Linked DNA regions of Homo sapiens: regions 1 and 2 are each linked to region 3. Evidence: promoter capture Hi-C in 16 types of primary human blood cells and fetal thymus (Javierre and others, 2016). All regions are on one chromosome and are shown on one strand. Each heading gives the region's core, a stretch centred on a gene start or on the middle of the fragment in contact. The rest is flanking DNA. Distances are from core to core; before and after follow the strand shown.

Region 1 (3,437 bases), core at 899-3,398, 4.5 Mb before region 3:
GAAAATGAAACCGAGAGAACACCAGATGCAACTAAGGTATAACTGAGAGAAAACGAACAGATCTAATGCATCTGAAGAGCAGTTTAGACAATCAAGAGAAAGTGGGAGGTTGAGTTCATAATATATGCACAGAAAACCAGGCAAATGAAAAAACAAGACGTTATAACAACCACCACTAAAAGAAGTGGTACAAGAAAGGAAAAGCAATCACAGCTTACCACTTGGCTCTTTGTGAATAGTGTTTACATAGCCATAATCATATAAACACTGAATACTGATCTAACCAAAATTATAACAGAATTACATAGGAAGGATGAGGGGATAGGAAAGGTGTGCCTTCAAGGTGAAGGCAGAGGAAACAAAACAAAATCCTCATCTTCCATGATGGAAAGCCAAAAGATAATACCTAAAACTAAAAAATCAAGAAGTAGGAATCTATAATACACAAGATATAGCAATATCCATTAGAACCATGAAGACGAAAACCAAAATAATCAGCTAAAAAAGGTGAAAATGAGTGTCATTAGGGAAGAGAAATTGGGAAATACAGTTGTTATTATTTAACTGTTTAACTCTTTTCTTTTTTTTTTTTTTTTGAGACAGAGTATCACTCTGTCACCCCAGGCTGAAGTGCAGTGGCACAATCTCAGCTTACTGCAACCTCTGCCTCCCAGGTTCAAGCGATTCTCCTGCCTCAGCCTCTCCAGTAGCTGGGATTACAAGCGCCCGCCACCACACCCAGTTAATTTTTGTATTTTTAGTAGAGACGGGGTTTCACTATGTTGACCAGGCTGGTCTTGAACTCCTGACCTCAAGTCATCTGCCTGCCTGGGCCTCCCAAAGTGCTGGGATTACAGGCGTGAGCTGCCGTGCCCAGCCTGAACTATTTAACCCTTCAAAAACCATGATAAAACTAAAAAGTGAGTGAATAAATAAAAGTGAGAAAAGATGGAAATTGTGAAGTAGGGAGGGTGAGTAGATGGGAAATAAAAATAATCTTTAGCTTTTAGGAACTAAAAATAAAAACAAAATTTTTAAAAGGATTATAAACAGAGGAGAATATGTTTATAGCCTTGAATTGGGCTAGGTTTTTCTAAGCAACATTAACACCCAAAAGGTATAATGGAAATATTGGTATATTTTATCTCCTAAAAATGTAAAACATTAGTACAACAAAAGGTACCAAGAAGTTAAAAGTGACTAGGGAAAAATACTTGTAGCATACTTAAGAAAAGACAATATGTACAATATATGAACTGTTTCTAAAATTAACAAGAAACAACCCAAGAACAAAACATGAGTAGTCAAAGAAATACAGATGTTTAGTAAACAAAAGAAGTAGCTATCATACTAGTAATCAACACAGTACAAATTAAAATTATTTTCCCTCAAATGGCAAAAGTGTAAAAATTGAAAACTGCGTATCTTACATTGATCAGACAAATGGACATTTGCCTCAAAGCCTCTTGGTAAAAGTATAAACTGGCCAAAGTAATTTTCACAGGATTTTAAAACTATAATATCTTTGACCCCTAGAATTCCACTTGTAGTAAGCTAGCCTACAGAAATGTATGCACATACACTGAGAAACATTTAACACGAATATTCACTACAGCACTGTGTATAGTAACAGAAATTGTTACAGCCTAACATCTACACATTATGCAATTTTTGCAATTTTTTAAAAACACAAGAAAAAAGAAATAAGTATACCTATATTAAAGACAAAGATTCCCAAAACATGTAGTTATATCTAAAAAAAAAAAAATCAGGATATGTTTCTTTGCATGCAAATACAGGAAGATACACAGAGGATTACGAGGGCCAAACTATTTCAGTAGTTACGTTTGAGGAAAGGGCAACGGGAAAGCAAGTATGAGAAGGGAGTTTTTCATTTCTTGCTCTACATCTTTTTATATCATTTAAATCTTTTAAATGATTATGCCTTCATATATTTTTGAAGAATTGTTTAAGGCATAAAATTTTAACCCCAGTTTTGTAGAAAGCTTTATTTACTTGGAATTTGGAATCAAAATTATTTATGAACTATTGCATTATCCCTGAGACTCTAACATTAAGTGCTTGAAAATACAGACAAAGGTAAGTTGCCACAGAGCACCCGTGCATACCTGGCAACCTGTAAAGGCTGTTCACTCTGGAGTGTCTGCTTATCTGCAGCCAAATCCCAGAGTGCTGGTGGGGCCAGGCCAGTGTCAGATTCTTTAATACCTACATAGAGAAAGATGACAAAATTTACTAAAATGTAATGCATCACCCTATAATAAGCTTTCTAAACCTCAGCACTACTGATATTTTGCACTGAATCATTCATTGTGAGGACTATCATGTGCATTATAGACTGTTTAGTAGCATCCCTGGCCTCTCACCACTAGACGCCAGCAGCACCACCCTCTCTCAAAGTCATGACAATCAAGGATGTCTCCAGACATTGCCCAGTGTCCTCTGGGAGGGGTTGGGAGGGTGGGGCAAAATCACCCCAGCTGAAAACTACACCCTGCCCTAAAGTAATTGTCAAGCCAAAAATATAATGCCACATTTGACATTTTTGTGTAGGTCAAATATTATAAAACTTCATCATTCAAGTTCCCCCCAAAAAGTTCCAGGAAAGAGCCCAATTACTTGAAGCAAAACTATGTTGTGAGATCTTATTTTTATCCAAAAAAGTTTTTTGACTTGTTAACTGAAGTTTACTGAACTGGGTTTTGACCAACAGAAATATTACTGGCTTAGAAGATGGTACTATTTCTTATTTCTTAACTGCATAAGCATTAAACCTGGTTGTAAAAAGCAGTGAAAGATATGGTTAAATGAGATCTAATTTCTTAACAGAAAGGAAGAATAATGATTTTTTTTAAATCTGTAATCATGAAGGAGTAAAATCTGTATTTAAACTCTTGATATTATTCACACATTACATTTAAAGGAAGGAAATGGGAATTTAAAAATACATACCAGTGAGCTCATTAATTTTCTTGAGAAGTTGCTGAATGTCATCTTCAACTTGCTTGATCTGCCTAGAGTAAGTGCTCTGACCCTAGGTGATGAAGGTCAGTTTAGTTAGAATATCAGGATATCAACCATTTATTAAAACTACAGGTAAAAATTATTTTTAAGTTACAATTTCAATAGCTATCATTATCCCAAAGCTTGTGAAGTAGAGAGGTATTCCTGACCCAATATTTCCCCCTAAATACACAATCCACTATTATGCAAGATAACAAATGAAAATCATGGCCAGGCATGGTGGCTCATGCCTATAATCCCTGCACTTTAGGGGGCGGAGGCGGGTGGATCACCTGAGGTCAATAATTCAAGACCAGCCTGGCCAACATGATGAAACCCTGTCTCTACCAAAAATACAAAAAATTAGCCAGACGTGGTGGTGGGCGCTCATAATCCCAGCTACTCAGGAGGCT
Region 2 (3,501 bases), core at 677-3,176, 4.2 Mb before region 3:
CCTGTCCTCTTTCCTACCCAGAGCTGGCACACGTTCCCAGGGAAAAAAAGCAGCTGTGCATTGTCAGCTCACTTCAGAAAAATTTCCTTCCCCTGGAATTCCATGGCTCGCCAATATCTTTTTTAAATGTGATTTTTGTAATGTGTCTGTTTTTTTCTAGTTGTTGTAGCAGGGTCATTGGACCATGGTGACTTTCCACATCCTACTCAGATATGAAATCCTAGGGAGACTGTCTTGTTTCACTCCTCAGTTTACCTCAGATCTAGAGATAGGTTAGGTGTCTTCCTTGGCTCCCCATTTCCACTTCCAAACTATGTATCTTCCCTCCTTTTTCTAAAGTCTCAGCTTCTTTGTAGTTCATAACATCAGATTTAGCACTCACTGTCTTCATTATGTACCAATCTCTATGTTTTGTTGGTAGCATTAGCATCTGGCTCACCATCTTCCTTTTTCTCTACTCCTGTCATTGTTCTTGTGCCCGCAGTATTCACAGGGATGTTCCGTTCACATCCTTGACCTTTCTTCCAGTTATCTTTGCTTTCACCGTTCCTCAGTCATGTCCTTCTATGGTCATACTCTTAACCATTTTATCCTAAATTGCTGTACCATCTCTGAAATCTCCATTTCTTCATCCACTTATCTCTTAATTTCTTAGCTCACTCACATTGGAGCTTCTACACTAGCACTTCTTCAACTGACTCAAACCACCATTTCATTCAATTATCTTTGCACTGTCAAATATTACTCTTATGTCCTTATTTCTCTCTTTACCCATCTTAGATTCCTTGGTTCATCATTATTGTGGATGTCTATTACCTAAATGTCTTTACAACATTTAGTGATTTAAAATAACAGTATTCATTTTATTATTGCCTCTCACAGTTATGGGAGTTGACAGAATATTATTGCTTGAGATCCCTCATGCACTTACATGTCAGAGTGGCTGAGGTTAAAATCATCTTGAAGGCTTCCTTACCTACATGCCTGGCAGTTGATGCTGGCTGTCGATGAGGACCTCTCCTGAGACTGACAGGTAGAACATCTATGTGTAACATCTCCATGTAGCTTGAGCTTCCTCACAGCGTGGAGGCTGGGTCCCAAAACAGGTGTCCAAGAGACAGAGCCAAGTAAAATCTCCTTTTATAACCTAGCCCCAGAAGTTACTCAACATCACTTTCACTGTATTCTCTTCATTACAAGTGGATTATTAAGACTAATCCATATTCAAGAGGAGAGGAATTAAACCCCACCTCTTTATGTAAGAAATATCATTTGCAGACATGCTTTTAAAATGCCACCACACCATCATTATGATCACTTTCAAATACGATTATCTCCTTTACCTGTTTCTCCCTCTGTCCTATTGATGTGACAAACACCCATCCCTGGTAAAACTCAAATATCCAGCAGTCCGTGCTTACCCCTGAGCAACTGAACATTATTTAAAGGAAGAACACACAATTAAACTGAATTGTGTCACTTTAAATTCAATCCTCAGTTGTCAAATGGGCTCTCAATATCCATAGTCCTACATTTCCTAGTATTTTCAGTTTCTGACAATTCCATTACACCCACAGTGAAAGAGTAGACAAAAAAAAAAAAATTCTTGGGAGGCCGAGGCGGGCAGATCACCTGAGGTTTGGAGTTCAAGACCAGCCTGACCAACATGGAGAAAGATCACTAAAAATACAAAATTAGCTGGGCGTGGTGGCGCATGCCTTTAATCCCAGCTACTCGAGTGGCTGAGGCAGGGGAGTCTCTTGAACCCAGGAGGCGAAGGTTGCGGTGAGCTGCGATCACGCCATTGCACTCCAGCCTGGGCAATGAGAGCGAAACTCCATCTCAAAAAAAAAAAAAAAAATCCTCACAAAATTCTTCCACTGAATATTAAAAAATCAATTGCATTTCAATTCACTAGAACCAAAGTTTTAAACAGTAGCTTTTAAAAATTACATTCATAGGCTGGGCGCAGTGGCTCACGCCTGTAATCCCAGCGCTTTGGGAGGCTGAGGCGGGTGGATCATGAGGTCAGGAGCTTGACACCATCCTGGCTAACAAGGTAAAACCTCGTCTCTACTAAAAATACAAAAAAAATTAGCTGGGCGTGATGGCGGGCGCCTGTAGTCCCAGCTGCTCAGGAGGCTGAGGCAGGAGAATGGTGTGAACCCGGGAGGCAGAGCTTGCAGTGAGCCGAGATCGCACCGCTACATTCCAGCCTGGGCAACAGAGTAAGACTCTGTCTCAAAAAAAAAAAAAGAAATTACATTCATAATAGCCACAAAAAATATAAGGTTTCTTAGGACAAGATGTGAAAGACCTGTTTGGAGGAATTTGTAAAATTTTATTGAAAGATGTTTAAGGTGACCTAAAGAAATGAAGTACTCTGCTGTGTTTATGAATGGGAAAATAACAACATGTAATGTCTTCCCAGAAAATGTATAAATTCAATGCAATTTTAGTTAAAGTCTAAAATTTTTTTCCCCATAAAACTAGACAGCTGATTATAATACTGCAGAAATATTGAGGAGGAGAAAAGTAGCCCTTGACACCTAGAAGCTGGACTGGTGTCATGATCTAGACCTTGGCATTGCTTTGGGCTAGCATGTTGTTAAGCCTTGTCAGTGCTGGAGGGACCCTGGAGGGAGAGGGACTTCAGTTCCTGGTTCCTGTGTGCTTCCTCACTTCTTGTTCACATGACACAGCTTCCAGGAGCATGTGTGTGGTGCACCCAGTGGTGCCCACTCTTCAGCAAGTTTTGCTCACCAGCCTCAGCCCATTGGCACCCCAGCAGGGGGCGTCTGCTCACTAGTGTGAGCTGGTGGGGTCCTGTTCACCAAGCCTTGGACCATCATGGCTGAGAACTATCTCTGTCTCAGGGCAACCTAATGGACTTCCCCACTATACCTCAGCCACACTCCACATTCTCTGAATCTCAGCCTTGGGGAGGTGGCTGCCCTCCTTCCAAGGTTATTTCATCTTTGGGTACTCTGTCTGAGCCACAGGGTGTCCTTTAGTGTTCTCTTTTGCTCTTAGTAGTTACTCTCTTTTTACTAGTTAGTAATTCTTTGAATTGCATTCTTTATTAGAATCTCTTTATGAGATAGAATAAATTGTTCTTTATTCAAAACACGGGTGTGATTTCTGTCTCTTGACTGGACTCTGAGTGATACAGGAGGATTAACTGGAGAGGGACATGAGAACTTTCCGGAGAGTTGGAAAGAAACCACACCCGGGGTGTGGGTATTTTCATTATCAAAATTATACTAATAAGATTTATGCATTTGAAATAATATAAATTTTACCTTAAATTATAATTGAGAATAGGTAGAAATGGGTAGATATATAGATGATACAAAAATCACAGAATAATTATTGTTGAAACTGGGTGATAGGTACATAAGTGTTCCCTATACTACTGTTTCTAAATGTTTGAAATTTAAAAATCTAAAATGAAAGATAGTTATGGCTAGGCTTTTTTTTTCAGAATGTATGTTGCTAGGG
Region 3 (3,403 bases), core at 484-2,983:
TGGCACCAAAGACAATGTTTCCACGAATGAGGGGTTGGAGGGATGGTTTCGGGATGATTCAAGCGCATTACTTTTATTGTATACTTTATTTCTATTATGATTACATACTCACCATCATGTAGAATCAGTGGGAGCCCTGAGCTTGCTTTCTTGCAACTAGATGGTCCCATCTGGGGATGATGGGAAACAGTGACAGAACATCAGGCATTAGATTCTCATAAGGAGCACGCAACCTTGATCCCTCACGTGAGCAGTTCACAGTAGGGTTTGCGCTCCTATGAGAATCTAATGCCCTGCTGATCTGCCAGGAGGTGGAGCTCAGCGTGGCTCACAGGCCCTGCTCACCTCCTGCTGTGCAGCCAGTTCCTAACAGGCTATGGACTGGTACTGGCGGCCAGGGGCTTGGAGACCCCTGCTTTAGACGCCTTGATGTCAATGCACTGGGTGGTGCAGTGATGGTCCATCCGTGCTCCACGGGCCAGAGAGGAGGTCAAAGGCCCTCACTGTGTGGGAGGATCCCTCGCCCAGGTAGCCGTAGCAAAGCGGAAGCATAGCTGGGACCAGAACCCACCGGGCTTCCAGCGTTTAAGGCCAGCCAGGCCCCTCCAGCTTCTAGGAGAGCCCAGCCCTGCTCCTCTAAGGCAAATGGCAGTAACTGTGTAGGCTGGTCACCCCTCACCGCAGTAGCCTGACTCCCACAAGGCCCTCAGTGACAAAGAAGTTGCCCTGGGCCCAGATACGAGCAGGAGCCCCATCTTAACAGCAGCTGTGAGAGGGTAAACCGGGGGATGACATCAAGCCCACGGCAGGGGCCGGGTGCTCAGGCCCCTCTATCAAGAAGGGGCAAGAGGCTGGGCACAGTGGCTTACACCTGTAATCCCAACATTTTGGGAGGCTGAGGCGAGAGGATCACTTGAGGCCAGGAGTTTGAGACCAACCTGGCCAACATGGTGAAACCCCGTCTCTACTAAAAATACAAAAATTAGCCAGGCCTGGTGGCGGGCACCTGTAATCCCATCTTACTAGGGAGGCTGAGGCAGGAGAATCGCTTGAACCCGGGAGGCGGAGGTTGCAGTGAGCCGAGATCGCGCCATTCTGGGACAGAGCGAGACTCTGTCTCAAGATTAAAAAAAAAAAAAAAAGAAAAGAGGAAGCAGCAGCAGCAGCAGCAGCAAGAGGAATTTCGAGGCCTTTCGCCCAACGCCTGGCGCACCTTAAGCTCTCAACAGTTCTTGAATGAGGAGTAGCATCTCGGAGCCACGAGCGTGCAGAGAGAAGGCACCTGGAGGAGAGCCCCAAGGGACCTGCAGGCGGCTTGCAGCGCAGCGCACGCCCCTGGGGACGCTGAGTCAGAGCCGGCGGCATCGGATCCAGGGCGGGGAGGGGCTCGGGGGAAGGGAAAAATGCGGGTGCGGGGGGCGTGGTTTCGGGTAGTGGAGGGGAAGGATGCGGCCGGGGGTGGATTTGGGGTGGGGAGGGATGCGGGGAGGAGCCAGGGCGCAGGAAGGGAGCTCTGGAACCCCTAGAGGGGAAGCAAGCTGGGAGGGGCGATCGTGGACTCCAGGAGGGCAGGGGGCGCGGCCGTGGGAAGAGACCCGGAGAGGGAGGACGCGGCCGTGGAGAGGGACGCGGGAGCAAGGGGCGGCGGGAGGAGGAGGAGGGCGCGCGGCGCGGCTGACGTGGGCCGGGGTCGCGCAGCGGGCTGTGGGCGGCGGCGGCGGCGCGCAGCGACAGAGCGTCCCCCGGCGAGGACGAGCGAGCACGGCGCCCGCACCTCCCCGCACCGCCCGCGCTGCGCGCCCGGAGGAGCGACCGCCGCAGTTCTCGAGCTCCAGCTGCATTCCCTCCGCGTCCGCCCCACGCTTCTCCCGCTCCGGGCCCCGCAATGGCCCAGGCAGTGTGGTCGCGCCTCGGCCGCATCCTCTGGCTTGCCTGCCTCCTGCCCTGGGCCCCGGCAGGGGTGGCCGCAGGTAAGGCGCTGGGCAATCCGGCCTCCCTGCAGCCGCAGCCCGCCCGGGGCCTGGAACCGTCTCAGCGGGCGAGTGGGCCCGGGAGCAGGGATTGCGGAGGTGGCACCGTGCGCCCTGCGCGCATCTCCCTCCTCGGCTGAGGCCACTGCAGCGCCCTTTCCCCTCTCCTTTCATCCTTGTTCCCCAAAGTCGCCTGGGCACTGGAGGGGGCTCCCCGCACCCCCTGGATTCCTGCTTCCACCCCCCCAGGCTGGCCCTGCCCTGGAAACCGCGCGGGGGTGGCCGGCGCATCCGTCGATGCCTGGGGACCATGCACCCGCTAAGGGAGGGGAGGACGAGGCAGGGAGGCGGGGATGCGCCAGGGTCCGTCATCGCGCCACAATTCCCCAGTCCCCCAGGGAGCACGGGATGGGCAACGTTTTTGCCTTAAAATGTCGCCTCATCTAGAGGGGTTTCCCACCGTGTTGGTGCTGGCTTTGGGGAGATGCGAATTTAGAGCCCAGGAGGCCAGGCTGCCATTTCCTCTCTGGTGGTGATTTCCAAAATGGACCCGGAGCTGACAGGTTCCTGGGGTGTGTGTGTGGGTGGGGGAGTGGGGGAAGCAGGGTTGTGTGTCTACTGCCCCCACTTCCCCACCGCCAGAAAGCCAGCACCCACCTCTCTGCCACATTTTGGGAACCATAAAAGGACCCAGATTTAAGACTATTCGAGGGACAGATGGGACGTGGGCAGCTAAGAAGGTTGAATACTATCCACCACTTTTCACCCCCTCCCCCCTCATAAAAGAGCGGTGGAGAGAGAGAGCAAGGGATCTAATGAAAATTTGTGAAAGAAAAACCATGAGGTCAAAGAAAACCTGCAACTCAGGGATGAATTAGACGAATTTTATGGGAATTGCACTTGGACAAGATTACCTATTTCCTCCTGGAAATACAGGAAAGGGGTCTCTTGTCCATCAGGTTGATTTGTGTCAGAGATTTTCAATGTGTCCTAAATTGCAAAAGAAAAAGAAAATAATAACAAAAGTGAATTAATTATTTGGAAATCATGTGTGGTTCCCATTCTAGCCAATTGCACCCTTGATGTGGTCAAAATCACAGTGGCTAAGAGTGGAGTTGGGAAACATCTTCTCCCTCACCCGTCGGGGAGACTTTTCTACCCTTCCCCTTTCTGGAGTCCATGAATCAGGGATTTGTAAGTCAGAAGTCCATGTACTGGACTATTAATTAATTCTGGGTTGTGTTATCCAGACTTTAGAGGTACTCTTTGGAAGTGTTTTGGGTAGTCTGCATATTCTGTGTGAAAGGACTGGTGTAGCCATTTTCTAGAATGTTCAGGGCTGCACATGCTGTGTTGCTGGAAAAGGTAGGTGTTTCTTCCATGGGCCAAGCTTTGGGGTGAGTGCCCCATCTCTTTTTGCTTTTGCCCCTTGA

The links. The method cuts DNA at HindIII sites, captures the fragments that hold promoters and counts their contacts. A CHiCAGO score of 5 or more calls a contact.
Region 1: a contact is called between a fragment that was not itself captured here and the fragment with the promoter of TMEM130 in region 3, in 1 of 17 cell types (total B cells). The highest score is 5.5, in total B cells.
Region 2: a fragment that was not itself captured here is called in contact with the fragment with the promoter of TMEM130 in region 3 in 1 of 17 cell types (total CD4 T cells); the score reaches 6.9 in total CD4 T cells.

Annotation. Positions count from the first base shown.
Region 1 is chr7:103,354,486-103,357,922 of GRCh38, reverse strand. PSMC2 (proteasome 26S subunit, ATPase 2) reads right to left here. Exons shown (of 12, transcript NM_002803.4): 3 at 2,974-3,055; 4 at 2,130-2,229. It also overlaps a transcript of SLC26A5 not described here. Among named protein-coding and RNA genes, the nearest start is that of PSMC2, 8.6 kb to the right of the region's middle. The HindIII fragment of the contact is 280 bases long and covers 2,009-2,288 here.
Region 2 is chr7:103,065,152-103,068,652 of GRCh38, reverse strand. The region is part of intron 1 of FBXL13 (F-box and leucine rich repeat protein 13); the gene reads left to right. Among named protein-coding and RNA genes, the nearest start is that of FBXL13, 7.9 kb to the left of the region's middle. RefSeq lists a silencer at 2,657-2,951. The HindIII fragment of the contact is 5,499 bases long and covers 1-3,501 here.
Region 3 is chr7:98,868,344-98,871,746 of GRCh38, reverse strand. It overlaps TMEM130 (transmembrane protein 130), which reads left to right and starts at 1,733. Exons shown (of 8, transcript NM_152913.3): 1 at 1,733-1,970. The coding sequence starts at 1,886. RefSeq lists enhancers at 1,663-2,248, 2,249-2,835. The HindIII fragment of the contact is 4,583 bases long and covers 1-3,362 here.